Linked DNA regions of Homo sapiens: regions 2, 3, 4 and 5 are each linked to region 1. Evidence: promoter capture Hi-C in 16 types of primary human blood cells and fetal thymus (Javierre and others, 2016). All regions are on one chromosome and are shown on one strand. Each heading gives the region's core, a stretch centred on a gene start or on the middle of the fragment in contact. The rest is flanking DNA. Distances are from core to core; before and after follow the strand shown.

Evidence for each region. The method cuts DNA at HindIII sites, captures the fragments that hold promoters and counts their contacts. A CHiCAGO score of 5 or more calls a contact.
Region 2: a fragment that was not itself captured here is called in contact with the fragment with the promoter of PCBP1-AS1 in region 1 in 1 of 17 cell types (fetal thymus); the score reaches 5.1 in fetal thymus.
Region 3: a contact is called between the fragment with the promoter of FAM136A here and the fragment with the promoter of PCBP1-AS1 in region 1, in 1 of 17 cell types (fetal thymus). The highest score is 6.8, in fetal thymus.
Region 4: a contact is called between a fragment that was not itself captured here and the fragment with the promoter of PCBP1-AS1 in region 1, in 17 of 17 cell types (monocytes, fetal thymus, total CD8 T cells and 14 more). The highest score is 17.8, in monocytes.
Region 5: a contact is called between a fragment that was not itself captured here and the fragment with the promoter of PCBP1-AS1 in region 1, in 3 of 17 cell types (neutrophils, monocytes and fetal thymus). The highest score is 9.0, in neutrophils.

The regions. Positions count from the first base shown.
Region 1 is chr2:70,084,850-70,090,716 of GRCh38, reverse strand. PCBP1-AS1 (PCBP1 antisense RNA 1) reads left to right here and starts at 3,702. Exons shown (of 11, transcript NR_033872.1): 1 at 3,702-3,739; 2 at 5,093-5,170. It overlaps PCBP1 (poly(rC) binding protein 1), which reads right to left and starts at 3,240. Exons shown (of 1, transcript NM_006196.4): 1 at 1,514-3,240. The coding sequence starts at 2,973. The coding sequence ends at 1,903. It also overlaps a transcript of ASPRV1 not described here. RefSeq lists silencers at 898-987, 1,078-1,127, 3,154-3,213, 3,664-3,813 and enhancers at 1,936-2,102, 2,174-2,818, 4,024-4,233, 4,274-4,363, 4,504-4,643. The HindIII fragment of the contact is 2,991 bases long and covers 1,709-4,699 here.
Region 2 is chr2:69,834,182-69,840,048 of GRCh38, reverse strand. It overlaps GMCL1 (germ cell-less 1, spermatogenesis associated), which reads right to left. Exons shown (of 14, transcript NM_178439.5): 2 at 2,379-2,502; 3 at 496-592. Among named protein-coding and RNA genes, the nearest start is that of GMCL1, 7.5 kb to the right of the region's middle. The HindIII fragment of the contact is 487 bases long and covers 3,391-3,877 here.
Region 3 is chr2:70,298,636-70,304,502 of GRCh38, reverse strand. FAM136A (family with sequence similarity 136 member A) reads left to right here and starts at 2,436. Exons shown (of 3, transcript NM_001329752.2): 1 at 2,436-2,899; 2 at 3,523-3,663. The coding sequence starts at 2,492. RefSeq lists silencers at 314-443, 2,247-2,516 and enhancers at 2,202-3,150, 3,151-4,100. The HindIII fragment of the contact is 2,364 bases long and covers 378-2,741 here.
Region 4 is chr2:69,918,161-69,924,027 of GRCh38, reverse strand. MXD1 (MAX dimerization protein 1) reads right to left here. Exons shown (of 6, transcript NM_002357.4): 3 at 2,263-2,292. Among named protein-coding and RNA genes, the nearest start is that of MXD1, 6.0 kb to the right of the region's middle. The HindIII fragment of the contact is 1,056 bases long and covers 1,576-2,631 here.
Region 5 is chr2:69,936,053-69,941,919 of GRCh38, reverse strand. It overlaps MXD1 (MAX dimerization protein 1), which reads right to left. Exons shown (of 6, transcript NM_002357.4): 5 at 4,526-4,685; 6 at 1-3,823. The coding sequence ends at 3,636. It also overlaps a transcript of ASPRV1 not described here. Among named protein-coding and RNA genes, the nearest start is that of ASPRV1, 23 kb to the left of the region's middle. RefSeq lists an enhancer at 4,076-4,611. The HindIII fragment of the contact is 1,707 bases long and covers 1,473-3,179 here.

The DNA.
Region 1 (5,867 bases), core at 2,453-4,952:
TCATTTAATACACATTGCTTTGTTTCCTACCTTTTAATCATCTGTCTTCTCTGCCCAGATTTTGTGGCCAACCCTCAGCCCCCAGAAATGGGCCTTTTGGCTTTTTATAATCGAGTACACTGAAATTTACTGTGTTCTAAGCACTGTTCTGTTTTATATACATGCTTTCATTTTATTTTCACAAGCCCAGAAGGTGTTAATTTTAACATCTTCATTTATAGAGATTAATTTGTCCAAAGCCATGAATAGGAGGCAGAACTCAAATTTGAAAGCAAGTCTAACTCCAGAATTTGGGCTCCTTTCAGTGACTGCTTGCCTAACCCTGCGTGACCACATAATAAGCCTCAACGAATATTTACTGTGGATAATACTCCCCTCCCACAGGAACTTCTCTTTGCCATGAGTGATCTCCCATAGTGCCTGGGGTTTGAACTACCCACTTTGGCACCTACTGGTCTATTGTCTGATACTATTGTTTCTTCTTTCCCTCATCTCAGGCTCTATTTTCTCATACTATTGTTTCTAATGTTGCCTTTGCCTAGCAGTTTTCCTTCTCTCATCAGGTCAGGGATAGTCCTATTGGCTGACGTGGGCGTGAGGGTGCTACGGCCTTCACAGCGGGATCTTCCTCCTCCACTGAAGACAATCAGTGGCATTCAAATCTAAGACTCCTTTGGGGTGTTTGTTAAAAATACAGCTGATTAGTTTTGGGGTGGGACAGAGGAATCTGCATCTTTAACACTCAGATCATTCTTAGGTTATAGTCAGTGCATCAGTCTACATTCCCGCCTTGTGAAGACTGACCCATTTAGGCAGGATTATTTCCTGGTATAGGGATTCTCTAAACATTGCACACAGCTGAAGAATTGGAAACTGGGCCTCTTTTGTTTCTGGATACACCACTTGGCAGGTGTAATAACATCCTCTGACAGGCTGCTTGCCACAGGTGCATGCTTGACACGTGCGTCTCGTTGGTACCGTCCCCTCCCCCCTTCCCACCCCTGCTGCCCAACCAAGACCCCTCTAGTCCCACCACCACCCGGCAGCTGTTGCCCTCCTCCAAGCCCCCAATCCTCCCCGGCCCACTGCCCTCCCTTCCTTTCCTTTCCCTGCCCCCACACCCCTTCCCCAGGCTCCTCCCACCCCAGAATATTTTTTTGTTCCTAAGTTTATCCTGTGAGGTGGGGGTGGGGGAACTGGTTAGATGGAGAGGACGCTCTGCCATTTAGAGGTCCTACTGAGTGGGCACACCTTTTCCCCTCGAGAAAACCTTGTTTCTACCAGAGAAATGGGCAGAGGCCTCTCTCTGGAACTTGAACCTCTCTGTCCCTGGAAACATCCCAAAGCAGGCCCAGCCTGCCATGTTCCTTTGTTGGGGCACAGAGGGAATGGAATCTTACCGATAAGGTGAGAAGAGCTTGAGAGAATACCAAGGACGGGCCCACCCTTCTCCCTCCTCCCTCCAAACACCTCAGGCTAAAAGGGGAGGGAAAAAAAAGGCACCAACAAAGAGTTTAAGACAGCAATTCCCAGCTTTTTCAAATATGAAGCATTTTTTAACCAATCCGTTTTTTAATTCTTAAATTCTTGACATTACAGAACTAAACTGAAATTTATTAACATTCCACTCTTACATTTCTTATCGACAAACAGAAATAAAATTCATGAGCCAAAAAACCCAAAACAAAACTAAAAACAGGGAAAAGCTTATAAAACTAAATATGGATCCCAGCATTAACAGCTGAACAGAGAATGTGATTTTTAAATTCTTAGCGGATGATAAAGTTGTGTAGAAACTGAACACTTACAAATTATTTAAAACCTGGAATCACTGACCAGAAATTACACAGTTGGATCATGGGAGAACAGCAGAAAGGGGTTATTGAGGGAACCTACACTGTTCTAGCTGCACCCCATGCCCTTCTCAGAGGAAAGCCTGGCATTGATTAGATACTGGGCCAGACTAATACTGGCAGCAGAGCCAGTGATAGTAACCTGCCTACCAGAGGAGCCTTCCACTGGGTTGGCAATTTTGATCTGGGCCCCGGACATCTGGCGGATCTCATTAATGTTGGCGCCTTGGCGCCCGATTATGCAGCCAATTAAGTTATTTGGAATGGTGAGTTCATGGGTGGTTTGAGTAGATGCATCCAAACTTGCCCAATAGCCTTTCACCTCTGGAGAGCTGGAGTCAATTCCGGCGAATCCGGTCCCGCCGTGCATCATGGCAAAGTGAGACTGTTGTCTTGCCACCTGGTTCAGCTTGGCCAGATCGAGCGGAGAAATGGTGTGTTGTCCTTGAATCGAGTAGGCATCTAGAGGTGGTCCCTCCAGGTCATGGGTGGCATGGGGGTAGCCCGCAGCGTCGCTGCACCGATCTTGGCCGCCCGCGCAGATGACTGGGGAGCTGGCCGGCATGGGCTGGTACGGAATGGTCATGACTCTCCCTTGCGGAGACTGGGAGAGCGTCTCCAGCATGACCAGGCAAATCTGCTTGACACACTCGGTGACAGACTGCGGCACGCCAGCGATGGTGATGGCCCGCTCGGTGGAGTTGGGCAGCATATCCCCCGCCACCTGGACCTGCGCCCCCGTACTCTCGCGGATCTCTTTGATCTTACACCCGCCTTTCCCAATCAGGGAGCCGCACTGGGTGGCCGGCACCACCAGCCTCAGGGTGACCGGGGGCCTGCTGGCCGCGGTACTGTTGGTCATGGAGCTGTTGATATCTTCCTCCAGCTTGTCGATGATCATAGCGAAAGCCTTAAAGATGGCATTGGTGGGGCCGGTCAGAGTGATGATTCTCTCCGGACAATTCCCCTCCGAGATGTTGATCCGCGCGCCACTCTCCTCGCGGATCCTCTTAACCGACTCCCCTTTCTTCCCAATGATGCTTCCTACTTCCTTTCCGTGCATAAGAAGCCGAATGGTGAGAGTCACATTTAGTCCACTTTCAGTCACACCGGCATCCATGGCGAGCGGCGGGCGGCGTTCGGGGGAGTTGGGCTCGTTACGTGGTCAAGTCTTTGGCGGCTGGCGGGGGGAGGGGAGGTGTAGGCCCAAAACTGCCGGCGCGAGGCGAGCGAGGGCCGCGGGAGCGAGCGGGAGCGGGCGGGAGGCCGCAGCGTAGTCGCAGGGGCGGGCGGCGGCGGCGGAGGGGGCGAGCGGGGCCGGGAGCGGCGGGCGGGCGGGTGGGCGAGGGCGCGGCGGTGGCGACTCCGGCGGCAGCCTCGGCGGTCTGGGCGGGGCGGGAAGCCCGCTTTCAACCCCGCGTACCCTCTGACCCCGGAAGTGCTTGCTGCGCAGGACCCCTTGAAAAAAAATGAGGACCCGTCTTTTTTAGGTCACAAGATTGCGCCAACCCTTACATGGTCCTTAAAAAAAAAACCTTCTGACACTGCAGTAGTGAAAATGAAGCGCACGATGGGCGGAAGCTGTGAGTCCGGCAAAGTTTTAAAATGATGACGTATTTTATTAACTCTAACGGCACTGGCGGGTGACTGAAAATACTAGTGCTGTGTATGCGGGATAGACATTATTTTCCTGCCCTACATGAGGGGCTCGTGCGCGGAACGACATGGGCAGCCCCGGCGGAAACTGCAGGCACAAGCCGGGACGCCGCGGGTTTAAAACATGCGCGTGAGGTGACCAGAGCGCGTGCGCGAGGGTGTGGGGGGATGGGAGGGGCAGCAGCCCTCTTCCGGGGGGGAGGGGCGGCGAGGCGAGGCCTGCGGAGCGGGTGCGCGCGGGCGGGCACGTGGGGCCCTTTCGTCCCCGGCGTCCGGGCGCCCTGCATGGATCCCCCACCCCAGCTCCTGCTCCCCGGCGGCGGCCGGTGGGCAGAAAGACCGAAACCCACTCACGGCCGCCTGCCGAATCGCGGCTCTGCTGTTTGTGGGGCGTGCTAGAAACGTGGTCCTAAAAAGAATGGCGTCCATTTACATAATGCTTTGTTTGCGTTTCGCAAGTTTCTTTCGGTTAAAGCCACAGAAACCCCACCTCCTGCCCTTGTGTCGTTTCCACCGCGGCACCCTTTTCCGACATTAGAAACAATAGTGTACGCCTGTGGAGGCCTCGTTTGTTCAGGGGCTGCCGGCCAGGGCTTCAGGACGTTTCTGCGGCTTTCCCCGCGCGGCCTGGGCTCCCGCGGCTGCTTTTCGGGCCCATGGGCGCAGCCACTGCGCCAGGCTCAAGGGGGGCGGCCCCGTCAGGGCCCGCCATCTTGGAAGGCCTTTTTTGCCGGTTCTTCCCGCTGAGGAAGTGTCGCTCAAGACGCTGGCCTATGAGTTGTGATTTCTGCCTTTTCCCCTTCCTCCTTGGGCTAAGCCAGACCAGAAAGGGCCCCGTGCGCAACGTGCTTCACAATCTCTCAGGGAAAGCGGCTAACGTGGCGCTACTCCGCCTCCCCTGTTCCTTACCCTTGGGGCGGCCGCCATGTTTCCTGAACACAAAATGGCGACACGTGGTTAGCATTCGTCGCCAACGAGAAATTGGGGTCGGCCCGAAAGCTCTAGAATGCACCCCTCTTCCTCCCCGGGGCCTTCCACCTCCGCGAGTTTTATGACTTAAAAAAGCCCACAGGCTGGTCTGAAGGTCGGAGGCCTAATTTTAACGCGTTTTCCTCCCTTTAATTTGAAACGGGAACGCGAATGACTGTAAAATGTGGGCACAATATTTAATCTCTCGCCTTTTTAAAGCTTAATAGTGGATAATAGGGGGGCAGTATCAAGGGATAATTTGGGTCCCCACAGTACCAAAGCATTTAGAAACCTCTGTTTAATTTAAGGAATGAGATAAGTTACTGCTTTTCTAGACTTCCTAGCATGGGCTGTTGTGCTGGAGAGAACGAGAGCTACGAAGAGACTACAGTGCCTCTGACTTTTTCATAGGACAGTTGGCCGGTGAATCTTATTAATAGTTTACCACAATTAAGTGTTCATTTTTAGTCTAGAAGGGACAGGCGTTTATTGTGCATTGGCCAGTGCCAGCACATCCGATGCAAGGCAGTTCACCGTATTCTATCTTTAATTTTTACCATGGTCCTCTGAGGTAGGTGTTCTTATCTCTCTCTCTCTCTCTCTCTTTTAAACAGAGGAAGACAAACATAAAGATGAAGTGCTTAATTCAAGGTCACACAATGTCGGGGATGGACCTCCAGATTTCCTTACTGGTGAGCACATTTTCCAGGTTTTTCTGTAAATCAGGGTTTTGGAATTTAAATACTATTTAAAACGTTTAGGTGAGCTTGTCATTTAAATGAGCCCTTCAGGTAATCTTTTGTTGTGCAGTCAGCCCCTTTTTGTATCAGGCAGCTCCCAGCTTTTCCTGATAAGAGCTACACCTGTAACGGGCGGGCGGGCTGAAATGCTGTCTTATGCAGTGTCTGGTGAGGATAGGGAGGGGGAAGTGATTCAGCCTGCCCAGAGGCTCAGGTGTCTGTCGGTCTGGCCCTGTCTGTGGCACATTTGAGCCTACCTGCCTCTGGGGGAGCAAATGGTTTTTTGTATGACTGACTTGCTTCCGTCAGCTCCCCATGGGCTTGACTCTTGCCTCCCCCACCCCAGCACCCCAACCAGGTAAAAATAAATTCGCTCTGGCACCAAGCCTCCATTTCTCTGCAGAGATTGACAGAGCATGACAGAGTGTTAGGTCAGTCTGTGGACTCTTCAGTTCAATGCAACACGTAGCTAGTGGGCCAAGCAACAAACTGGTGCCTGAGCAGGGCTCTGATTGTGTGTGGATATGAGAGACAAAGAGAAGGGCTTTTTGCCTTTAACTTATGTTACTATCAGATATATTTTCCAAAGTGGTTTCATGTTAGTTTATATAACTCTACGAACATTTAATAGGTACATAACAGCAACGAT
Region 2 (5,867 bases), core at 2,385-4,884, 250 kb after region 1:
GGAATGAGGAGAGCTGTAGTCTGACACAGGCTCACTAAACTGCTCTGAGATCCAAAATAAGTCCCTTAACTCCTCTGAGCCTCAGCTTCCTCAACTAAGGATTCTTTTAGCTCTAAAACAATATTTTTATTTATTGTTCCCAGAAAACATCTTCATACATAGGGAATAATCAGTATTATTTATCAGATTTTCTATGTAATTAAAAAAAAAAATGGTCATACTTTTCCTTCCTCCATCCTACATCTTCCATATCCCAGGTGGGCATATTTACAAAGATAAGTAAACAAACTGATAAGGCCCAAATGACAAAACAGATTAGTGATAAGATGGACAGAACTGATAAACTATGGTGTAAATCAACATCAAATTATCACCTTGAGGTGATAAAAGGAGTTTTCTAGACTACAAGGCTGGAAGGAATTATTTATCTTCTACCAGAAGAATAAGATTATGTTTTTACGATTGTTGCATAATAGTAATTATTGTGGTAGTTACCTTCTACATCAATGTTCTGGTCAGGAATCTCCAGTTCAATAATATTCATGCTGGATTCTTTCCAAGAACCACTGAACATACTAGAAAAGTAGCCAGACTTAAACAAAAAAAAAAGTCAACGATTATCAAGTACTTTCTGTGTCTTCCAAATTATTTGCCCATTTCTAATTCTAAGCAACTATTCTATCCATTAACTAAACTCATCCATTCTATTACTTCAACAGAAAAAGAACTGCCAAATATGTCCACAGGAGAAAAGAAATTAAGATAAGGACACTATTAGGTGTATCAAAATATACTTTTGGTTTAGTACTATTTTTGACAAAAAACTAAAATTCTTATATTACTATCTAAATTGAATTCATGTATATTATTTGAACCTGGTTAGCTTTTTACTCAAACTGTTGAATCTTTACTGTACACCTGAATGGCTATAAAGGACCAAACCAGTCCCAAGTCAGCAAAAACAGGATGATCGCCAAAGAAACCAGGGAAAATCCAAAATTTAGTTTAATGAGAAATGTCCAGAATGGACCTGAATTCTTGGAAAGGTACAGAATGAAGTCTTTAGGTATCTGCCAGATAGCACTCCTCATAATTAGAATTACTTTGAAATGGATCAAATATTAACTAATTTATTTAAAAATGTTACTGAGTACTTAGTATGTAGAAGGCACTGTGAATATAGCAATAAACAAAATCGATATTGTTTCTGTCCTCAGGGGGCTTATATTTTAGCATGTGGCTTGAATTATAATACATCTTCCACGAGGGGTAAAGTTTTAACAGAGGTATTCTTACCCTCAAGTTCACAAAACTGCTTTCAGATATTAAAAAGAAACAACATGAATCATACCCTGAAGTTAAAAGCAATATTCTGATATAGTATCTGGGCAACATACTTCAAGCCAAAATAAATTTGTTTCAAAAACACATTTTAAAACATGATTAAAATGTTAGAGAAGGCAATTCATTTTCAAATACTTTTACTGAAAAATTTTATACTATGCTGTCTTACCAGTAATTATTCTCAAATGGTAAAGAGGAAAAATGTAAGTTCCAAAGGATAAAAACTGTTGTTTTATTTCTAGTGCCTCAAACAATACCTAGCTTATAGATTTGATGAAAGAAAATGAATAAAATATTTGGGCCATTAGAGCAACATTGTATTCTATTTTGAAAGCTCCGATTTTTTTTTTTTTTTTTTTTTTTTTTTTGAGACAGAGTCTCGCTCTGTTGCCCAGGCTGGAATGCAGTGGTACGATCTCAGCTCACTGCAACCTCCATCTCCCAGGTTCAAGCAATTCTCCTGCCTCAGCCTCCTGAGTAGCTGGGATTACAGGTGCCCAACACCACGTCAGCTATGAAAGTTCTGAATTTTTAAAGTGGGGTGGCAGGTAGTAATATTTTCAGTACAGAAATCTACTTAGTCTATATACTTTTTGGTGTTGTCTTTACCTGCATTTTTCAGGAGAGAACTTTCTATTCACACTCAATGTGAACTACAAAGCAACATTTCAGATGAGTTTATCCAATTTAAATAACCATAAGCAAAATAAACACTACAATCTTAACTTTAATGTTAAATATTTTTTCCCCAACTTTTCCCCTTTTATCAACAGAAGGCACCGAAAAAAGCATTTTATGAAGTAATGACAAATACGTAGTATTAGGCTAGTCTGATACTGAAATATCAAAATCTCTTTCTAGACCAAACTTAGTTTTCACTAACAATGTTTGCCATTTTTCTTACAGACTGATCAAATGAGAGGATTTAACCACTATGGTGTTCATGCAAAAGATTACTGTGAAGTGCAATGAGGAAGAACATGACTTAAGAGTTTCAGTGACTACCCTGTTACTCAAATAGAAAAAATACTTACTTGACATAAATATATTTTGTGTAAGCTCCATTCTTCTCCTAGAGCACAAATCTTAATGTCACTGTTTTCACCATTCAAAAATAATGTTTGATAAATATATTTAGATGTACTCTTTAATTTTTTCCTGTTAAAAGAAATGAAAAAGTCACATATTTATATAAAACTGAATGTTTTACTGATTTTGCATATATTTCTAAATACTCCTTTTATTCAATTTCTATTAAATAGAGTCAACTTACCTATTGTGTAAAAGGATAGGGAGATAGTATATATTCAAATTTTCTTGTGTCTAGAAGAGTACATAAGAAACTAATAATAGTGGTTATCTCTGGGGTCCTCTATGCACGGGAGAGATAGTGGAGAAAGGGGGGCAGCATGGGAGGCAGACTTTTCACTACACATGTTTTAGCAATTTTGGACTAATTTAATTACCCATTCAATAGATTAAGAAGTTAGCATGTTGATTTTTTGCTTATTTCCTTATTTAGAAACCAGCACTATGAAGGAGCTCAAATAGCGCAATAATCTGCAAGTAGGAAATGGAGAACAAGAGTAAACATTTCACCTACCCAAGTAATTTTAAAATAATTTACATTTAATCTTATTTTGGTACCAACCTATTCTTAAACTACTTAAAATGTTTTCCAGCCACTGGACAAACGGTTTGCAACCTTAGATCAAAGGTTTTCTTTTCTTTTCCTATTTGTTTTTTAAAATTATTTATTTATTTATTTTAGATGAAAGGTTTTTAAAACTGCTCAAAGGAGAAGTCTTAGGGGCCACCAAGGAGAGCTAAGGAGTGAACTGTGAGCATCCCATCTAACTTCAACCAGAGCAGCATCACCTATTCTATCTGTAAACATACTGGATTTCTGCACAGATTTAATTTAAAGGAAGACTTGACTAAAAAAATAAAGTTTGAAAATCATTGCTCAAAATGATCCAGTAACTAAGAAAAGGCCTTAGGCAGAGGCTGATCAATATCTTAAATTCCTGACCAATTCTGAAAGCTTTCCTAGCACATAAAACCTTCAATCTCTTTTTAAAAATGAAGTAATTGTTTCAGATGACATCCTGAATTGGCGAATTTAACACCTGTGTACTTAACACCTCTTCCTAGCCGACAATAAAAACAGCACATGTCTTAGTGGTAACAGACTTGGGTTTGAGTCCCAGCTGCTCAGTTATCACAGCTGTAAAAAGAGGACATTAATAGTATCCACTTCACTCGTTATGATGCGAAATCAAGAGACAATGTAGTTTCCAGTTCCTGACGGCAGAATGTACACATGTTGGCTTCCCATCCCTCCCCAAATTACATTAAAGATTAAGAGTACAAAAAAGGAATAAGTCCACACCAGGAAAAGGTGAGGGTAGGCTCATCACTTGATGAGAGATTTATACAGATCTGAAAGTTAGAAAACAAATTCAAATGAAAAAGAACAGTGACAGCCACAGCCAAAAAATACATTATGGAGGACTAGGATGGAGGCTAAGCTTATCTGCCCATCAGAACCCTTGGGAGAAAAGAAGGATGAGGTCTCAGGGAAACAAAGGCAGAAGTAAGAAGAGGGGCAGAAAATGGGGAAACTAGTGCCTTCTCCACTCTATGAACACAGAGTATAGATAAGGAGAGTACAGATACTGAGGCAAAAAGATTCCAAGGTTTTTCTAGAAATAGCACAAAGCTAATGGAAGATCTAAGGCTGTAGTGTAGCTGCTGGTGCCCAGACAAAGCAATCCTCATTCTGAAATTTAAAGAATCTGTGGCCTGTTCACTCCCAATCCATTCACCCTAAGTCATGGTTCCCAAACCGTGTGTGAAATTCACCAGTTCAGGATACCATCTGAACTTAGAGCACCACAGCCAACTCAGAGAGGCATGTGGAGTATTTTAAATTCGAAGGAAACACAGTAACATCTTTCAGATACCATGCAATCTGCTATCATTAGGTTGTTTGGCCCTAACTATGAGGTATTTCTTTTGGACCAGGGGTGAAAATTACTAAAATATGAAATGTGCTGTGATCCATGAAAGCTTGGGAACCTCTGCTCTACAAAGCATGCCCCACCTATAACCAACTTCGTAGTCTTCTTACTCAAAGAAGAGGTACATTGGAAATAGATCTATTTCCTCAATTAAAACACCATACACCAGTTACTCCTTCTTAAATATAAGTGGACAAGCAAGGAAGGATCACCCACCATGAGGAAGAATAAGAGCATATCAGAGAGACAGAGAGACTCCCTCCACCCCTGGAAACATATAATTCAGGGAAAAGAGAGGAAAAAAACACCCTCTCACCAGTATACCTAGAGATCTGAGATTATTATATTTACCCCATAGACTGCTATGATAAAGGATCACTCAGAACAAGAAAGAGCTTTTAGAGACTAAAGACATGATTACTGAAATTTAAAAAAACAAATAAACCAAAGAATAGTTTGTTTGTTTTTCTTCCTCATGTTGGGTGATCCTTCCTTGCTTGTCCACTTATATTTAAGAATGAATAACTGATGTATGGTGTTTTAATTGAGTAAATAGATCTATTTCCAAGGTACCTCTTCTTTGAGTAAGAAGACTACGAAGTTGGTTATAGGTGGGGCATGCTTTGTAGAGCAGAGGTTCCCAAGCTTTCATGGATCACAGCACATTTCATATTTTAGTAATTTTCACCCCTGGTCCAAAAGAAATACCTCATAGTTAGGGCCAAACAACCTAATGATAGTGATGAAAAAGTTAAAGGAAATTTCCCAGAACATAAAGCAAAAAGACAAAGAAAGGAAAAAAGAAGAGACAGGCATAATCCAAGAAATCCAAAATCCAGTTAAGAGGCATCCCAGAAAGAAAAAATAAAGATAAGAAGCGAAAGGAAATTATGGAAGAAATTAATGGAAAAAAATTTCCCAAAACTAAGGTAGTATATGAGTCTCCAGATTATAAGGATCCAACAAGTACCAAGGCCATTAAAAGACCCACACTTAAGCACATTCTAATTAAATCCCAAAATACCAAAGAAAAAGTTCCACAAGTTCCAGAGAGCAAAAATGGTCACCTGAAAAGAGAATTACACCAGAATCAAATTTTTCATCAAGACTGTAGGCCTGAAGACAATGAAGCAGCGTCATCAAAGATATGAAGAAAGTTACTTTAGATTTCCATACCCAGTCAGAGGATGAATAAAGTAAAAGAGACTAAATTTATATTTAGATACGCACAAATTACCCCCTTTTGCACCCTTCCTTGGAAAATACTTGAGGATGTATTAAATAGTTCCTAAAATAAGCGAGAAAGAAATGCAGGCTACACAAAATAGTGGATTCAATCCTAGAGATGGGGTGAAAGTAAGTCCCAGCATAAGAGTAGACAAATCCAGATTGGAACAGGAGGATGGAAGAGGTCTAGGTTTTAGAGAAGGATTCCATGAAAGTGTGTTTCAAAAGACTTTTCTGTGTTTTTTCAGAAAAACCCGAAGCCATGATGAAGGA
Region 3 (5,867 bases), core at 1,187-3,686, 220 kb before region 1:
TGCTTGCTTGCTTGCTTGCTTGCTTGCTTGCTTGCTTTTATTTTTTATTTTATTTTTTTTGAGACAGAGTCTCACTTTGTTGCCCAAGCTGGAGTGCAGTGACGTGATCTCAGCTCGCTGCAACCTCTACCTCCCGGATTCAAGCGATTCTCCTGTCTCAGCCTCCCAAAGTAGCCAAGACTACAAGTGCCTGCCACCACGCCCGGCTAATTTTTGTGCTTTTAGTAGAGATGGGGTTTCACCATGTTGGCCAGGCTGGTCTCAAACTCCTGAACTCCTGACCTCAGGTGATCCACCTGCCTCAGCTCCCCAAAGTGCTGGGATTACAGGCGTGAGCCACCGTGCCCAATCAAAACATAGCTTTCTTCAAAGAAGCTTGGGTTGAGTCAAACTCCCCACTGCCCTAAACTAGAGTTCTCCTGCCATCTAGCGCCCAATGGCAGAAAATCGTTAAATTCTAATGACGGCCCCATTCCTTTGTTCCTCCCCCACCCCCACCTTGCACCCCCATGCCTGACATGGCTTTCTCTTCAGCCCCATATGCCAAGCAAACACCCACTCATTTCAATTCAATTCAAAGCCTCAATTCAAGCCTTATCTCCTCTAAGAAAACTTTCCTGAGGAACCCGGATGGCTCACTCCCTCCTTGCCAGCCTGGACCACCTCCTCCAGCACACCTCTTCCAACACTGCCCCTTCCCCTTCTCCACGGAGTGTGTTTCCCTTCTCCACTGACACTCCCCTCTGGACCCGCACCCCTAGCTAATGTATTCGATAAATGAATGCACACGACAGTACTGTTATGGGTGGGACAGTGAGGCATTCCAAAAAAAAAACTGCTCCAGGAATTCAGAAACAGTTTCATGTTGCTGGCATGTAAGTGCTTCATTGATGACTGCTTCATTGATGATCTGTAGCCCCTGCTTTGTCTCTGAAGTTCATTTTTTATGAGAAATAAATGCATAAACATACATCTACCCTGTGATCCAACAATCCCATTTCTAGATATTTACCCAAAAGAAAAGAAAATCTGTGTCTACAAAAGACTTGGTCCAGGACTGGGTGGTGGTGCATACCCGTAATCCCTTTGATAGGCAGAGGCAGGAGGATAGCTTGAGGCCTGGAGTTTGAGACCAGCCTGGACAACATAGCAAGATCCCATCTCCAAAAGAAAAAAAAAATGGTCAAGGATGTTCATAGTCACCACTTTATTCATAATAGCTACTAAGTGGAAAAGACCCAAACACCCATCAGCAGGGGAATGGATCAACAAATGTGGGCCGGGACCGATGCCTCATGCCTGCAATCTCAGCACTTTGGGAGGCCGAGGTGTGTGGATCCCTTGAGCTCAGGAGTTGGAGACCAGCTTGGCTAACATGGTGAAACCCCGTGTCTACAAAAAAAAAAAAAAAATTAGCCAGACGTGGTGGCACATGCCTGTAATCCCAGCTACTCGGGAGGCTGAGGCATGAGAATCACTTGAACCAGGGAGGTGGAGGCTGCATGAGCCGAGACCACATCACTGCACTCCAGCCTGGGTGACAGAGTAAGACCCTGTCTCAAAAAACAACAACGACAAATGTGGTATGTCCATTCAATAGAATACTACTCAGCAGCAAAAAAGAACCAACAACACAGCTCAATCTCGAAAGCATTAGGCTAAGTATTTTTCAGCAATATGCTAAAAAAGCCAGACAGAAAAGGAGTACTTATTGGATAATAACATACATATGACATTCTAGAAAGAGAAAATGTAATCTACAGTGACAGAAGCAGACCAGTTAGGGCAGGGGTGGGGAGATGGGGTAGAAAGGACGGAGATTGGGACAAGACAGAGTTTGGGTTTTTATTGTTGTTTAGAGACAGAGTCTCACTCTGTCGTCCAGGCTGGAGTGCAATGGCGTGATTTCGGCTCACTGCAACCTCTCCCTCCCGGGTTCAAGCAATTCTCCTGCCTCAGCCTCCCAAATAGCTGGGACTACAGGCATGTGCCACCACACCCGGCTAATTTTTGTATTTTTAGTAGGGACGGGGTTTCGCCAGGTTGGCCAGGCTGGTCTCAAATTCCTGAGCTCAGGTCATCCACCTGCCCACGGCCTCCCAAAGTGCTGGGATTACAGGCGTAAGCCACTGCGCCCGGCGGACAGGGTTTGTTAAAACTCATCAAGCAGCACGCCTAAGATCTGGGCATTTATCTGTATGTAAATTACATTAAATAATTTTAAAGAATGTAAAGGGAGGGACATGGGAGGGAGGAGGAAAGGCAGGCAGCAGCCGCAGGGCAGGTGTCCCAGTGACCGGTTCCCAAGCGGGAGGAGGGCGGTGGGCTCGCGGACACCAGCATGCAGTGGCTCCGTTCGGCCGCCAGGGGGGGGCGTGGGCCCTGGAAGGGCAGGCGGCGAAGGGCGGCGAAGGGCGGTGAGGGGGCGGGCCCGTACGCCGATTCCATATGGGCGCCGGCGCGGAGCGCCGCGGGGCAGCGCGGGGTCGCCATGGCTGAGCTGCAGCAGCTCCGGGTGCAGGAGGCGGTGGAGTCCATGGTGAAGAGTCTGGAAAGAGAGAACATCCGGAAGATGCAGGTAGCGGGGCTGGGGCCGAACCAGGACCCCCTTCTCAGCGGGTGGGTTCCGGGCCCTTCCCTCAGCCACCACGCGACGCCTTGCACTGCAGCCGCGTCCCCGCAGACCGGGTGTGGGCGGCCCTGGGGTCGCCGGGGCGGCCTCGGACAGGACTTCGGAAGCTTTGGCGGATCGGATGAAATCCGTGTGCCCTTGCCGTGCGCGAGGCTGTTTTCCGCCCCTTCCAGCCCGGGGCAGGAGCGTCCTCGGCGGCAGGTGGGAAGCCCCTGGTGGCAGGCGCTCGCCCCACCACCTTCCCCTCTTACGCGGCCCCTTCCGCAGGTGAGCGGCCCGAGGCCCAGCAGAGGCGCTGCCAACGTGAAAGACCAGAAAGGCGAGGACTTCCGGCCTCCCCGTTGGCCAGGTCATGCCTGCTTCTCTTGCGCCCAACCTCGCTTCACACAGCGCGGGTTTCTACACTGTTCTTCTCTGAGCCCCGCAATGCCTCTGTGTGTTTCGGTCCTGCTTCTCTCACGGAGTATGCGTTTCCCAGATAGTGCCCCTTGAGTCATTGATTAGTGGGTCGGCTGCCCTCTGGTGGAATTTGTATTGCTAGGTTGCTGACCTCTGAACCCCATGGAAGAGGCTCCTGGTTTTCAGAATTTGGCTTCGTCAGACCACCCTACCCTCACCCACTCGGGCGAACCTCTGTTCACCCAACCATCGGTGCAACAGGTGCCGATGAGCTAGCAGCAAGGACACCATGAAACACTACACTAGACATTGAGGATAATTTTCCCCAGTGGTGGTTTTAAGGTCCTGGTGTCTATTCTCAGGGAAGGTGAAAGCAGAAGGTGGAGAGAGAGGTGCAAATATCCACGTGGCCTTCTAACTCCTGTAGTGCTCCATAGTCATCTCTGTCCCCAGAGACTTTCCTACCTAACCTCTCTGCCCTTTCTCCCCAGGGTCTCATGTTCCGGTGCAGCGCCAGCTGTTGTGAGGACAGCCAGGCCTCCATGAAGCAGGTGCACCAGTGCATCGAGCGCTGCCATGTGCCTCTGGCTCAAGCCCAGGCTTTGGTCACCAGTGAGCTGGAGAAGTTCCAGGTGAGAAATATCCTAGACAGAGCACTGTAGTCCTTGATACAGACTTTTGCAGGAGATGACAAGCATTTGTTCAAAACTCTTGGCTTTAGTGTCTTGGTTCTGTTAACAGTTGTGATACTGATGGCCAACCAGTTTTCACAGGGTTTGAAATTTTGGAAAAAGTCTTGGCGGTCGAGTGCCTTAAGTTGAACATCATTTCCTATAGAAATGATGTAGGCCGAGCGCGGAGGCTCATGCCTGTAATCCCAGCACTTTAGGAGGCTGAGGCAGGTGGATCATGAGAGCAGGAGATCAAGACCATCCTGGCCAACATGGTGAAACCCCGTCTCTACTAAAATACAAAAAATTAGCCAGGCGTGGTGGCACGCACCTGTAGTCCCAGATACTAGGGAGGCTGAGGCAGGGGAATCTCTTGAACCCAGGAGGTGTAGTTGCAGTGAGCCAAGATCGCGCCACTGCACTTCAGCCTGGCAACAGAGCGAGACTCTGTCTCAAAAAAAAAGAAATGATGTAATGGGGAGTTACCAGGGGAGTTCATGACCAAGAGCCCTTATGCAGTTTGTTGGGGAGGAGGCGTTTGTTTGTTCCTTTTGACATAACCACCAAATACAGAATGTATACTGTGTAGTATAAAGTTTCCTGGCTGGACGCGTAGCTCGCGCCTGTAATCCCAACATTTTGGGAGGCCGAGGCGGGTGGATCACGAGGTCAGGAGTTTGAGACCGTCCTGGCCAACATGGTGAAACCCCATCTCTACTAAAAATACAGAAATTATCTGGGCATGGTGGCAGGTGCCTGTAATCCCAGCTACTCGGGAGGCTGAGGCAGGAGAATCGCTTGAAACTGGAAGGCGCAGGTTGCAGTGAGCCAAGATCGCATGCCATTGCGCTCCAGCCTGGACAACAAGAGCGAAACTCCGTCTCAAAAAAAAATAAATAATGTTCAGGCACGGTGGCTCACACCTGTAATCCCAGCACTTTGGGAGGCCGAGGCAGGCAGATCACGAGGTCAGGAGATCCAGACCATCCTGGCTAACACAGTGAAACCCCGTCTCTACTAAAAATACAAAAAATTGGCCAGGTGTGGTGGTGGGCGCCTGTAGTCCCAGCTACTCGGGAAGCTGAGGCAGGAGAATGGCGTGAATCCGGGAGGCAGAGCTTGCAGTGAGCCAAGATCACGTCACTGCACTCCAGCCTGGGTGACAGAGCGAGACTCCGTCTCAAAAAATAAATAAAATAAAAATAAAAAAATAAAGTTTCCTAAAACATATATTATTTTTAAAACAGCAGAATCTCTAGAAAGGTAGGATAGCCTTGAAAAGGTACAGATTCGAGGAACACCCTTCCACCATTTTGTGGACTTATACACCCACCCAGGACTGCCCCTAGTTGCTATACCCAGAGGGCAGCCCCTCTGTCACTAAGGAGCAGTCATTTATGTGAATCATTATTACTGTTGACTCACTGATTCCTGGCTCACAAGCCCCTCTGAGGTTACCAAAAGAGCTCCCTGTTTCCCTCTCTGGAGCAAAGAGTATCCACAACTTCATTTTACTCCCATCTTCTAAGTATATTTTTCTGGAACCTGGGGGAAGCAAGCCTACTTCCAAGCCAGCCTTTCATAGCCTGAGGTTCCATCCACATGGAAACTTATACATAATGTGACACATCTTTACATTCTTCCATTCAAAACGCTTCAAAGTTACTGCCATTATGAAGGAATAACTTCTTCAAGATCATGGAACCCCAAAGGGTTTCTTTGTGTTCTTTTTGACAGCTAATTTTATAGATGGGGTCTTTGAAAATGTGATTCTTGGATTGCTCTATAACTTCCCTTGCATTATCTTTTTAGTCCTCTCCAAGTGGACTTTCACTCTTCACTGGGCCAGAACCACTCCTGCCACTCACCCCCATGGGGCCGAATCCGGGGGTCATTTCTCAGTCTTCATCTTACTCTGTCTGCATCATTGACACAGTGGATCCCTCTCCTTCTTAAAGCACTTTATTCAGTTGGTCACCAGGACATCTCACTCTCCTGGTTTTCTGCCTCCTTCCTTGGCCTCCTTTGCTCTCTCTTCCCCACTCCAGCCTCTGAGCATCAGAGTGCCTGGGGCTGTCCTTGTTTCTTTTCTCCTTTCTGCCTACTTCTCTAGTCTCCTCTAGCCTCATAGCTGTAAATATAATCTCTATGCTGACAGCTCCTGC
Region 4 (5,867 bases), core at 854-3,353, 170 kb after region 1:
AATAATACAATTGACATTCTGTGGCATTCCTGCAGAGGCAAAAGTCACAAAGTTTTAGTAAGTCTTTATGTGAAGCGATCAAATTTTAATAATAATAAAAATAAATACCAAACTAAAGTATTAGAGGGGCGAAGAACTAGAAGACTTTTCAGCAGAAATAGTCCCGGTTTACCCACATCACTGCAAAGGCAGGAAGAAGGGAGAGAATCTGAAGAGAAAATCTAAAAATGAGAAAGAGAAGCCACAACTGACTACCTTTCCCCTTTAAGAAGAGATACTTTTGAGTTTCTAGTTCATGATATGTAAATAGCTAAAGCATAAAGGAAGCTCCAACTTAAAACATGGTCAGTCACAATCATAGAACAATTAAAAGGGAAGACGATGGGATGAGCAGAAGCATATATGCAGTGAGGCACACTCAGCATCACACACACACACACACACACGAAATTCCATAGTGGAGTAAAGCTAACCGCCCTCTTCCCAGATTCTACCTGCCTGGGAAGGGTTTAGTCTGCCCTTTCACTGATTAAACATAAATATCATTCAGATCCTGACTTTCAGAGTCAGGCTCCTTTTTCAAAGAGGGTTGGCAGGAAATAACCACATGTCTTTATAGAGCCATCATTACACATCCTTTTCTTGTTCATGCAGGGCACTGAGAAAGCACTCAATTTGGATGGGTAGCCCGCATTTCAAATTGATGGGAGCTCAGAGACCAGAATGAGGCTAGTTCAATGGTTCTCCGCCATGGCTGCACATGAGAATCACCTGGGGAGCTTTTGAAACATACGAGTGCAGAGCCTCAACCCAAACCAATTAAATCAGAATTGCTAAGGGTAAGGTCTGGGCATTATTTTGTTTGTTTGTTTGTTGGCTTTTAAAAGCTCCACAAAAAGTTATCATTAATTTTTTTCAGTATGGTAAAAGCAAGTGGTTTTTTTTTTGTTGTTGTTTTGGGTGTTTTGTGTGTTTTTTTTTTTTTTTGGTGTTTACTAGAGATACAAGAAAATTTGCTTTAAAATACTTCATGGGAATAGGTGGTTTTGCTTACAGAAGACTGGCAAAATGTTGATAATTACTGAAGCTGGGTAATGGATACATAGGAGTTGATTACATTAGTCACTCTACTTTTTTTTTTTTTTTTTGAGACGGAGTCTCACTCTGTTGCCCAAGCCGGAGTGCAGTGGCGGGATCTCGGCTCACCGCAACCTCCGCCTCTAGGGTTCAAGCGATTCTCCTGCCTCAGCCTCCCAAGTAGCTGGGATTACAGGCACGTGCCACCACACCTGGCTAATTTTTGTATTATTAGTTGAAACAGGGTTTTGCCATGTTGGCCAGGCTGGTCTCGAACTCCTGACCTCAGGTGATCCACCCACTTTGGCCTCCCAAAGTGCTGGGATTACAGGTATGAGCCACTGTACCTGGCCAGATTTGAAATTTTCTATAATAAAAAGTTATTTTATAGAATCAGCAGAAATAAACCTTTGTTCTCTACCCTCACCAGAAAAATATACAAGTGTATGTGTATAATGTATTTAATATAAAAATATGTTTAAAAATACACAGAAAGCTTTGCAAGTGATTCTAATGTGCAACCAGAGTTGAAAACCACTCGGCTGCCTCACTGAAGGAGGGGCAACTTGATTTGGAAAATAAAGATTTAAGTAAGCAGCAAGAGGCAATCCAGGTGAGAGAGATTCCACTCAGGCTGCGGCAAGATGGAGCCCAGTGAGGGTGGCAGTCCTCCTCTAGTTAGGCACCATCTCCAATTTCTGCCATGCATACATTTGCCTGAATTTTGAGACTCTTCATTCACAAGTAAACTGCAAATACACATACATACACGTTAATACACATGTGTTAATATATACTTACATGTATATTATGTGTATATATATCTGTGTATATGTATTTTAGATAACACTGCCAATGATATTCAGTAGCATGTAATTTTTTTAAAAACACTATTTGTGGAAATGTTGCCTCTGACTAAAATGCTTTGGTCTGTGGAATAGTCATTCAAAGGCCTTCTTCAGGAGTGGGCTGGTGCGGGTGAGGGTTAGGGGTGTGGTCTTTTAACTGGCAAGCTCTACATCTACCTAAGTAATTTATGAGCGATGCTGCTTAGAGGGCGCTGGGTGAATTCTGAAATCAGGTGCTACTAGTGGGAAGAGTCAAAAAGAGCAACCAAGTTTGAACTGCATGAACAGAGAATGCAACAAAGCTCCCCGCATTCCACCTCCCAAATCCCCAACTCACCTATTCTTCTCCATTTCATTGTGAGTTGATCTGAAAGAGGGAACAATAAGAGAAGAATAAGATATTTTTGTCTTAAAGAACTACTTCAACACCAACACAATTCTTTTAACTTCTTTCTCTCCAAAGTTGATAGGAGAGATGTAGAAAGGCAGAAAAATTCACTGGGCTCTACTAAAAAAATTAGTCCATTTGAAGAGTTAGATAAATGTAAATCCTAAAATAGAGTTCAAGGTAAAGCGACAAACCAAGAAGCATGCCTTCTCTAGTGGAAAAATAATCCATTTTAAGACAAGAAATAAAAGGGGTCTATTTATACAAAAACAGCTGCACGATGCAATGTGAATTTGCGTTATATAATACGACAAAGCTTTCTGTAGGCTAAGGGTAGAACAGGGGAGGTAGCACCCCTACCCCACCCCTGCAGTTTTCCCTAGGGGTAGCATACACCAAAATTTTGTGTAAAGTTGCTTGACTATATTGTTTTAAATAGTAAAATAACCCCCTTCCCCAAACTTCTGACTCCCTGAAGTAACTATCATGTACAAGATGCTACTGTTAAATAGCAACCAAATGATTTTAGGAAGGGGTTTCCAAAGTTCAGCTCAATATAAAGATGATAGGTTGCTTAAAGCAGAAGTTAGTGAAATGTGAAGTCCAGCTTTGCCACTGATATACTGTGGAATGAATAAAATTCTTTACCATCCTGTTACTGGTTAACCTGTCTATAAAATGAGAATAAAAATAATTACGAATTATTTACTGAACAAGTATGGACCAATGAGGTAACAGCTGTAAAACTGATTAGAGAGCCTTGGATGAAAGGTGTGATGGATATGAAACCATATGATTAGTGTATTTATGGCTGACCTTAAAGACAAGGTCTGGCCTAAGACTTTATGGACAAGTTACCATAAAGTCATAAGAAGTCAATGTGGCCCCTTTAGTGTCCTCCTCACACAACCCCTTCCTAACCAGTTATAAATTTGGAAGAAGCTACCAGTATTATAAAGGAGCTGAATCTTGCTTGACCTTTCTATGAAAATTCTCTAGAATTTAACCAGCTCAGGAGTTTACTCCCTGGTTCAGCTCATGAATTCTGTGGGGCCATAATCAGCACCTTACTGGGCTTAGGAAATAAATTCTCACAGCAATCATGGAGGAATACCACCTCAAGAGTGCTCAGCCACTCATTTACATCAGGGGCACCAACATCAAGTTCACTCATCAGAGAATGGGGGTAAGGAGAGTGAATGTGGGGGGATGGCAGCGGAAGTGAGGAGGTTGTCTTGAAATGAGAAATTTCCAACCTAGCATTAAACTTCTCTTTCACAGGGATCTTAGGAATCAATTTTTATTCACGAAGAAAAAATAAATGAGAAAATGACAGTATTTTAAGTTTAGAATATTTGTTTTCTAGGTAAACAATATATGGACCTCATGTATTCAAACCAATCCAAAATTGGTTAACTTAAAAGTTTCAGGCTAGGCGCAGTGGTTCACATCTGTAAGCCCAACACTTTGGGAGGCCGAGGCAGGCGGATCATGAGGTCAGGAAATTGAGACCATCCTGGCCAACATGGTGAAACCCTGTCTCTACTAAAATACAAAAATTAGCCGGGCGTGGTGGCGCGTGCCTGTAATCCCAGCTACTCCCTTGAACGAGGGAGTTGGAGGTTGCAGTGAGCTGAGATCGTGCCACTGCACTCCAGCCTAGCGACAGAGGGAGACTCCATCTCAAAAACAAAACAAAACAAAACAAAACAAAACAAAACAAAACAAAACTTTAAAATGGTCAGGCATGGTGGCTCAGACCTGTAATCTCAGCACTTTGGGAGGCTGAGGCAGGAGAATTGCTTGAGCTCAGGAGTTGGAGACCAGTGTGGGCAACACAGCAAGAGCCCATCTCAATTAAAAAGAAATAAAAGCTTTACACTGATTCACTTGGTTATCCCTCAGCATTCTCCAGTCACATTGTTCTGAAGGTTTATTGCCTTCAATGGCCAACAGGATACTATAGTTAACAAGAATCTGGCATATACTGCAAACCTTTGGCTCTAAAGCACGTGGCATTTTAACTTTAACCGGGACTAGTAAGTTCAAAGCCTGACAGATTTTTTTAAATGGATGAAAGTAGATGGGCATAGTGGGATCCCAGCACTTTGGGAGGCTGAGGTGGGTGGATCACTTGAGGTCAGGAGTTCGAGACCAGCCTGGCTAACCTGGCGAAACCCCGTCTTTACTAAAAATACAAAAATTAGCCAGGCATGGTCACATACGCCTGTAATCCCAGCTACTCGGGAGGCTGAGGCAGGAGAATCACTTGAACCCAGGAGGTAGAGGTTGTAGTAAGTCGAGATGGTGCCACTGCATTCTAGCTTAGGCAACAGAGCGAGACTGTCTAAAAATAAATAAATAAATAAAATAAAATGGATGAAAGTATATGCCAACAGTTGGTTGAGATTACCCTCTTTAACTGTAGACAAGGACCACCCCTTGTAGGTGGAGGAGAGGAAAGTGAATAGGTTGAGAAGAGAGTAGAAAATAACAGCACACAGGAAATTCTTACCAAAATATTTCTGGATTCTTTGAAAATATATAAACTAATAAATAGAGTTATATACTTATGCAAAATTCTGAATCCCCAAAATAAACTTTTAAACAAACTCCATAGGAAGCACAACTTCTTCCAAAATTTGAACAAAATTTTTAAAACTACAGATTTTATTTGATTACTCGAGTGTTAAACACATGGTGCTTTTTAAAGGGGGACTTGTACTTAATGGCTAGAGCATTACTGAAGTGCATCTAGTTTACTGAAACTGAGTTATTAATAAAAAGCAGCCCTTTCAAAAATGATCAGTTCCGAGACTGCCAGCCACCTCCATTGATGGGTAAACATTTACGTTTTTAATTAAAGCACTGTAAGAACACACTGATACCTTGTGTCAAAACTATTTTCCATGTGATTATGGAAAACAATGGATAACTCTGGAATCACTGATAAAGGTCAAATTTCACCATTTAAAAATACACTCTAATAAAAAAAAACTAAGCCAAATTACGGCGTATCTGAGATAACCAGGAAAAATTCTTGGGTTCAAAAACACTCCTCATGTCAGGTCACTCTAGCCACTGTCTTATAAAACAACTGGGTGGCAAGTCCTGAACTTCCTCTTTCACGTGAGTGCCAAAGCTTGCTTTACTCATTGAACAAAACACACTTTTAAGAAGTTCTAGATTTCAATTCTAAATAATTAGTAATTGACTTCAAAAATCAGTAGGAAAGAAACTTCCATCTTCCCATATTCCAGCAGTTCTATGGATAATTTCAAAAACAATTGATATTCACAATTTCATTTTCATTTTTGTTGTTTTAATAAGCAACTAGAGAAACGTGAATAAGATCTGCATTTTCAGTTCCCAAGAAGTTTCCTATGTGGCAAAATCTTATCTTTTATTGTCCAAGGAAAAGTACTTCCCTAGACTCTACAAGCAAAAAGCACAGCATTTCAACCTGTAAGAACAAGAATAAACTGTTATCCAAGGGTTATGTAAACCAGCAGTAATCTCTCCCTATCCTTTACCTCAGTTCAAAATTCTGACCA
Region 5 (5,867 bases), core at 1,077-3,576, 150 kb after region 1:
ATACAGTATGGTATAAAAACCTAAATAATAATATGTGTGTGTGTGTGTGTGTGTGTATATATAGATACTTTTCAAAAATAAGTTCTCTCTTGAAAGGATGGGGAAGAGGCAAGAAGAAATAAGCCCACAAAATCTATTCTCAAGCTCCAAGATATTGCTAGATGGTTATTTTGAGCATCACAATCCTACCTAGTTTACACTTTTTTCTTATCCCCCAGGATTTGCTCTTGGCCGCTTTGGGGATGCAGAAGAGAGGCCCATAGGAAACTCAGGTTGAGGCCCCTTTGTTGCTTTTGAAAAAGTAGAGGTTAAAGGAAAATGCCCACCTTAAAAAATAAAAACAAAACAAAACACTCAAGTGGCCAACTGCAGGACGAGGGCCTACTTAATGTTCAGTTCTGAATCAACACTGAAATTATTTTCATCTTAGGTTGACAGGGAAAATCTAGGTCCTGCCTAAAAATGTGATGCATTTTGAATCACTAAACTAGCATTAGGTGTGTGACTACAGAAAGGAGCCAGCAGTTGCTATCAGCACCTTGAAGAATTCAAGATCTCTGCTTAGCAAAAGAAAACCAAAATACAGACGACCTGGGTGCTCGGCCCACCATTCAAAGCCAACAGGGGATGGAAAGCTATGTTTTCAGGATGTTACAGAAGCACACATATATATTTTCCCACTGCATGAAATTAAATTAGACTGCGTACTCTTATTTTTCCCACTTGCGTTATGATGGTATCAATAAGAGTGCAGTTTAGATTTTTTTAGTTTTTTAAAATCAACTTTCACATAAAAATATGCATGTGCCTATATTTATACACATCTGTATTTACGTACAATTGTCAAAGTCTTAAAGGCTGGGGTTTATATCTCTGCCCATCCCCTCCCAACCCCAAAATCCCTAATAGAAAGGTTTTCATCTTGCTTAAAAAGACAAAACAACTAAAAAGACTATAGCTCTTAGCAGTCAGGCTGGTGGATCAGTGAATGAGAGAGGACAAATTGGCGAATCAGGGCTGCCGATCAGCCGCACGGGGCGCGGAGGATGGGGTTGGGGGGATTAGCTGCCTTGGGCTGAGTTTGCTGGTCCTGAAGATTACAGTTTTGGTTAGAGAGAGAAGCCTGTCTAGCATGCTGACTCGGTCTACCTCAAGCTTTGAAAGTAATGTCTAACCCTGCTGCCAGTTTATCACAAGTGCATTAAAAATATAGAGATCTATCAAGTTCCACATTTATATGCAATCAAACTGAAAAGGACCAGACAAACAGTGCAAAGGTCAAATAATTACTGTTTTATATTGGGACAGTACATTTCAGATTTCAACCAAAAGACAAAAATGCAGTTTAACTCAAAGGCACAACAATTGAAACACAGAAAATAATGGCATCTCTTGGATGCCTTATTTCTAAATTAAACAAAGAAGTACACAAATTTTGTTCCCTTCCCTCCCCCAGTGCAAGCCCACAAGCTTTTTCCAAAGTCTTGAGCTTTTGATGCTGTCCCGCATTGTGGACTTGTGAGGCGCTTGGATGTAGCAATGAAACAAAATGCTTGAGAGGTCTAGTGAATGGCATTCAAAAGGGACCTCAAAGTGCAGACATATCTTTTTCAAATATGTTACAGGCTGAACTGGCTCTTTGAACACTATCACTCTGCTTAAATCCAGGAAGCAGGCTTTAAAAATGCAAAAGGCATACAAGTTGTATTTCAGTGCAAATCTTTAGCTGGTTATTGGAAAAGATTCCAAAAATTAAAAAAAAAAAAAAAAAATCCTTTGTGTCACCTGCCCCTCCCCCCACCCAAAGCCAAAATGAAGAAAAGACAGAACAAAACAAAAACAGAAGAATTACAGGTGACTTTGGAATCATTTAGGAATCCACTACTTCCAATCAGAATGTTTAGAAAAATACATTAAAGAATCATTTTTTAAAAAACACAAAAGTAATCTTGCTTTCTGAGACTGCTCTTCGGGTATAGAATGAGCTTCCGTGTGGAGTGCGTTTGAACTTTGACCTTAGCTGTGTGCGAGGTGCAGGCGCTGGGGGAGCTTCAGGCTGTGGTGTGCGAGTGACCGCAGGGGAGCGTGGGGTGGCTGCCCGCTGCCGAGTCAGCCGTTGAGCCCTTAGGTCGCAGTGCGTCCGTGGATTTTAGTAATGTTCTCATCACTTTGTGACACACTCTGCTTCAGCATCACAGATTTTACAAATGGTTCAAATTCAATGAAAAAGATTCGCCAGAGGCTGAAAACATCAAGACCTCAAAAATATGAATGCAAAAATATTCAGGGGAATGAACTAATTTTGTAGATACCTACATACAAAGTTTCTAGAACATCTATAAAACCACAAAGTCATAAGAATTTGTTTTCCATTACATTAGTTTATATAAAATGAATAAATAGTATTTATAGATTTAATGTGTCTTATGTACATATACATGTGCTCTGTTTTAGCTTAAATAAAAATGCTACAAAGTCGGAGACCACTTAAGGGAGAAATCATAACCAAAAAGAAAAATCAGCCTTTTAAACTATCAACCCAAAAGCCTCCATAAAGAAGTTTCTGGGTGTGTCCAAAAATAATCAATAAGGAGAGGAGTTCTAGTAACAGTGTACCATCCTCTCCTGTTCACCTGCAACAGAGAGTAGAAATGTGGACTTTTTCTTTCACTGATAATGGCTACTAGCTCTGCTAGTGCCACAGCTCAGTTATTGCTGAAAGTTCAATAGGAAAATAGATTATAATTGGACCAAATGTCACTATTTTGGGGGGGGAAAAAAGGATAATCACTGTGTTAAGTGGGAAATGGAGATCTCATTTATCTCTGAGGTAGGAAAAAAAAATGTTCCAGAGACAAGTAGCATTAACAAAGTTGGAGGGGAGAATGTGCCTCGAGATAGCAGAACACAGCGAGGTCCCAAGAACATCGCACAAAAATAGATTGTACCGTTTTGTTTGTGAGAACAAACAATTTGGAACTTTGATGAGCTGTGCAACCCCAGAGACACACTATCAAGGTGTCCATTTTAAAGTGAGAAATACTGCTCCCATCCACACGCGGCGCGTCGGGGGAATGAGCATGCGCGGTGTGAAGGGCGTGTTTTCTAGAGGTATTCCTGACTTCCTCACTGGTGGTGAGGTCCATGGTTAAGTGCTCTTAAATGCTGCTTTCAAAGCTTACTTTGGAGTTCTGAGATCAGGATCTCAATTTCAAAAGTTTGTTTCCTTCAGTTTCCTAAGTACAAGACACACTTGGACATTCCTCCTAGGCAAGTAACACAGTAAGCCAGAAAACTGGAAGAAAGGTCTGGGAGAGGACACGAGGAGAGCAAAGAGGGGGATTGCTGAGATGTGGACATTGCTTATTCGGTCTAAGAATTCTTGGATGCTTCAAATTGATTGGAATGTATAGTCTCTCAGAGACAAATTTTTATGGCGAGAAAAAGAGAAGCTAGTGGATGCAATCAGAAACCCACAATCCTAAGCACCTCCTTGAAAACAGTTACAAAGCTGATTTTGGTCAAGGTGGGACACTGAAGTTTACGTGCAAGGGAGTTGTGGGCAGGTCCAATACGTTACCTAATCAGAACCAACAGGGAGAACCTTCAAGGAGACAGCCGCAGTGCCCACTCTCTTAGAGACCAAGACACGCCTTGTGACTGTCCTGCAGCTTTATTCTCTTGATGCTGGTGCTGGAATAGCCCTCATCACTGCCGAGGCTCTGCATGCTGCCCCGCTCGTCAGAGTCGCTCACACTGCTGCTGCTCCAGTCCAGATCACCTGTGAGATAGTCCGTGCTCTCCACGTCAACGTCGATTTCTTCTGCAGGGAGGACAAGAGAGAAGGACATTGATGAAAGCGCTCTGCAGAAAGCTCAGGCGTGGTGGCTCATGCTTGTAATCCCAGCACTTTGGGAGGCAAAGGCGGGTGGATCACTTGAGGTTAGGAGTTTGAGACCAGCTGGGCCAACACAGTGAAACCCTGTTTCTACTAATACAAAAATTTGGCTGGGTGTGGTGGCTCACGCCTGTAATCCCAGCACTTTGGGAGGCCAAGGTGGGTGAATTACTTGAGGTCAGGAGTTCGAGACCAGCCTGGCCAATATGGTGAAACCTCATCTCTACAAAAATAGGAAAATTTGCCAGGCATTGTGGTGTGTGCCTGTAATCCCAGCTGCTTGGGAGGCTTAGGCAGGGGAATCGCTTGAACCCGGGAGGCGGAGGTTGCAGTGAGCCAAGATCACACCACTGCACTCCAGCCTGGGTGACAGAGCAAGATTCCGTCTCAAAACAAAACAAAACAAACTAGGCTGAAAACTGACACCAATCAAACTCTTCTGGGGTTGTCACCTAAGTGTTAGCAGGGAGAAGGAACCTGTCACTGGAGGTCACACTGTTCGACTTCTCTACATCATACCCAGTGTCTTAGTTCTTCTTACACTCTGCCTCCTGTCCGCAGTACTGAACCCCTGCTCTGGGGTTGGGGAGCACAAGGGAGACAGGGAGGAGAGTGAGAGAGGCTCACCCCTGTCGGAGTCGGAGCGCTCCGAGGAGACGGTGGAGCCGATGCTGTCCATCCGGATCCTCTCAATGCCCAGCTTCTCCAGCTGCCTCTTCAGGTGTCGCTGCTCTCGCTGAAGCTGGTCGATTTGGTGAACGGCTTTTCTGTCACAATCTTCAAGTTTCTGCAAGTCAAAGGGGTAGTTGTTGGGCCCCACAGGGAGATCTCTAAATGGGCAATGGCCCCCGCATCTTCCCTTCTAGCAGTGGAATGCGCCACACTTCCTCAGACGCCTTTCGGTGCCACTCATCAAGCTTCTCCCTGAGACAGGAAGTCGACTGGCCAGTGACTCCTGGCTTCGTCTGACTCTTCAGCATCGCCAGTGCTGGGGGTACTTGTCCTGTCACAGGGATTCTGGGGGTGAGCTCTCACATACTGGCACCCTGGTAGCCCTCAGTTTTAGTATCAGAAAGACTGCAGGCAGCAGTCCCCAACCTGATCTCCCTTGTTTGCAGCAATCCCCTGAACACCTGATCTCCGGACTAGAAAACTGCACTTGATGGGAGCTTAAGAAACACGCTTCCATTTAAAACTATGTTTATTCAAGTACATGTCCCAATTACATAAGCACTTTTTTGTGTCATGCCAAATCTCAATTAACTTCTGTTTGTTAGCAGGAAATAATAGTCCCTTTTGATGTCCTGATTCTAATTTGTCCAACAGAAGAGTTTAGAAAACACATTTCCATAGAATACTCATTTTTATAAATCTGCCCCCAGCTTCTCATATTCTTCAGATAATTAAGAAGATTGTTTAATTGTAGCTGTTTTGCTTTAAATAGAGGTTTTCTCCCAGAATTGTCATGAATGCAGGCTTCTAACCATAATTAAAGTAACATTTGTCCAACTATAATATGATTATACAAACATGCTAAACAGGGATTTTGGCTGTGGCTCTCAAGACTTTGAATCCAATTCCCCTTACCCTTTGCTATTCAGGTAGCAAAGAGAGTGTCAACTCTGTGCCCGATACCCTAGGAGGTGCTGGGGCTGTGAGGTGAGCACAAAGACCCAGTCCCCTCCCTCGTGGGGTGTATAGTCTAAGGATTGAGACAACACAATGGTCACACAAACCACTGTCAAATGTCAGTTATGACAGGGCTAAGAGATACCCAGTGATGGGACCACCTGTCACAGGAAGGAGGTCACTGAGTTGGGAAAGTCAGCGAAGGATTATCAGAGCTAGAGAGACTTGCACTGTGATCTGAAGAATAAGTAGAAGTCCTCTAGGTGAAGAAGAGAGAGGAAAGTGTACCAAGCAGAGGGAAGAGCATTGACAAAGGCCCTAAAGTAAGACAATATGACAG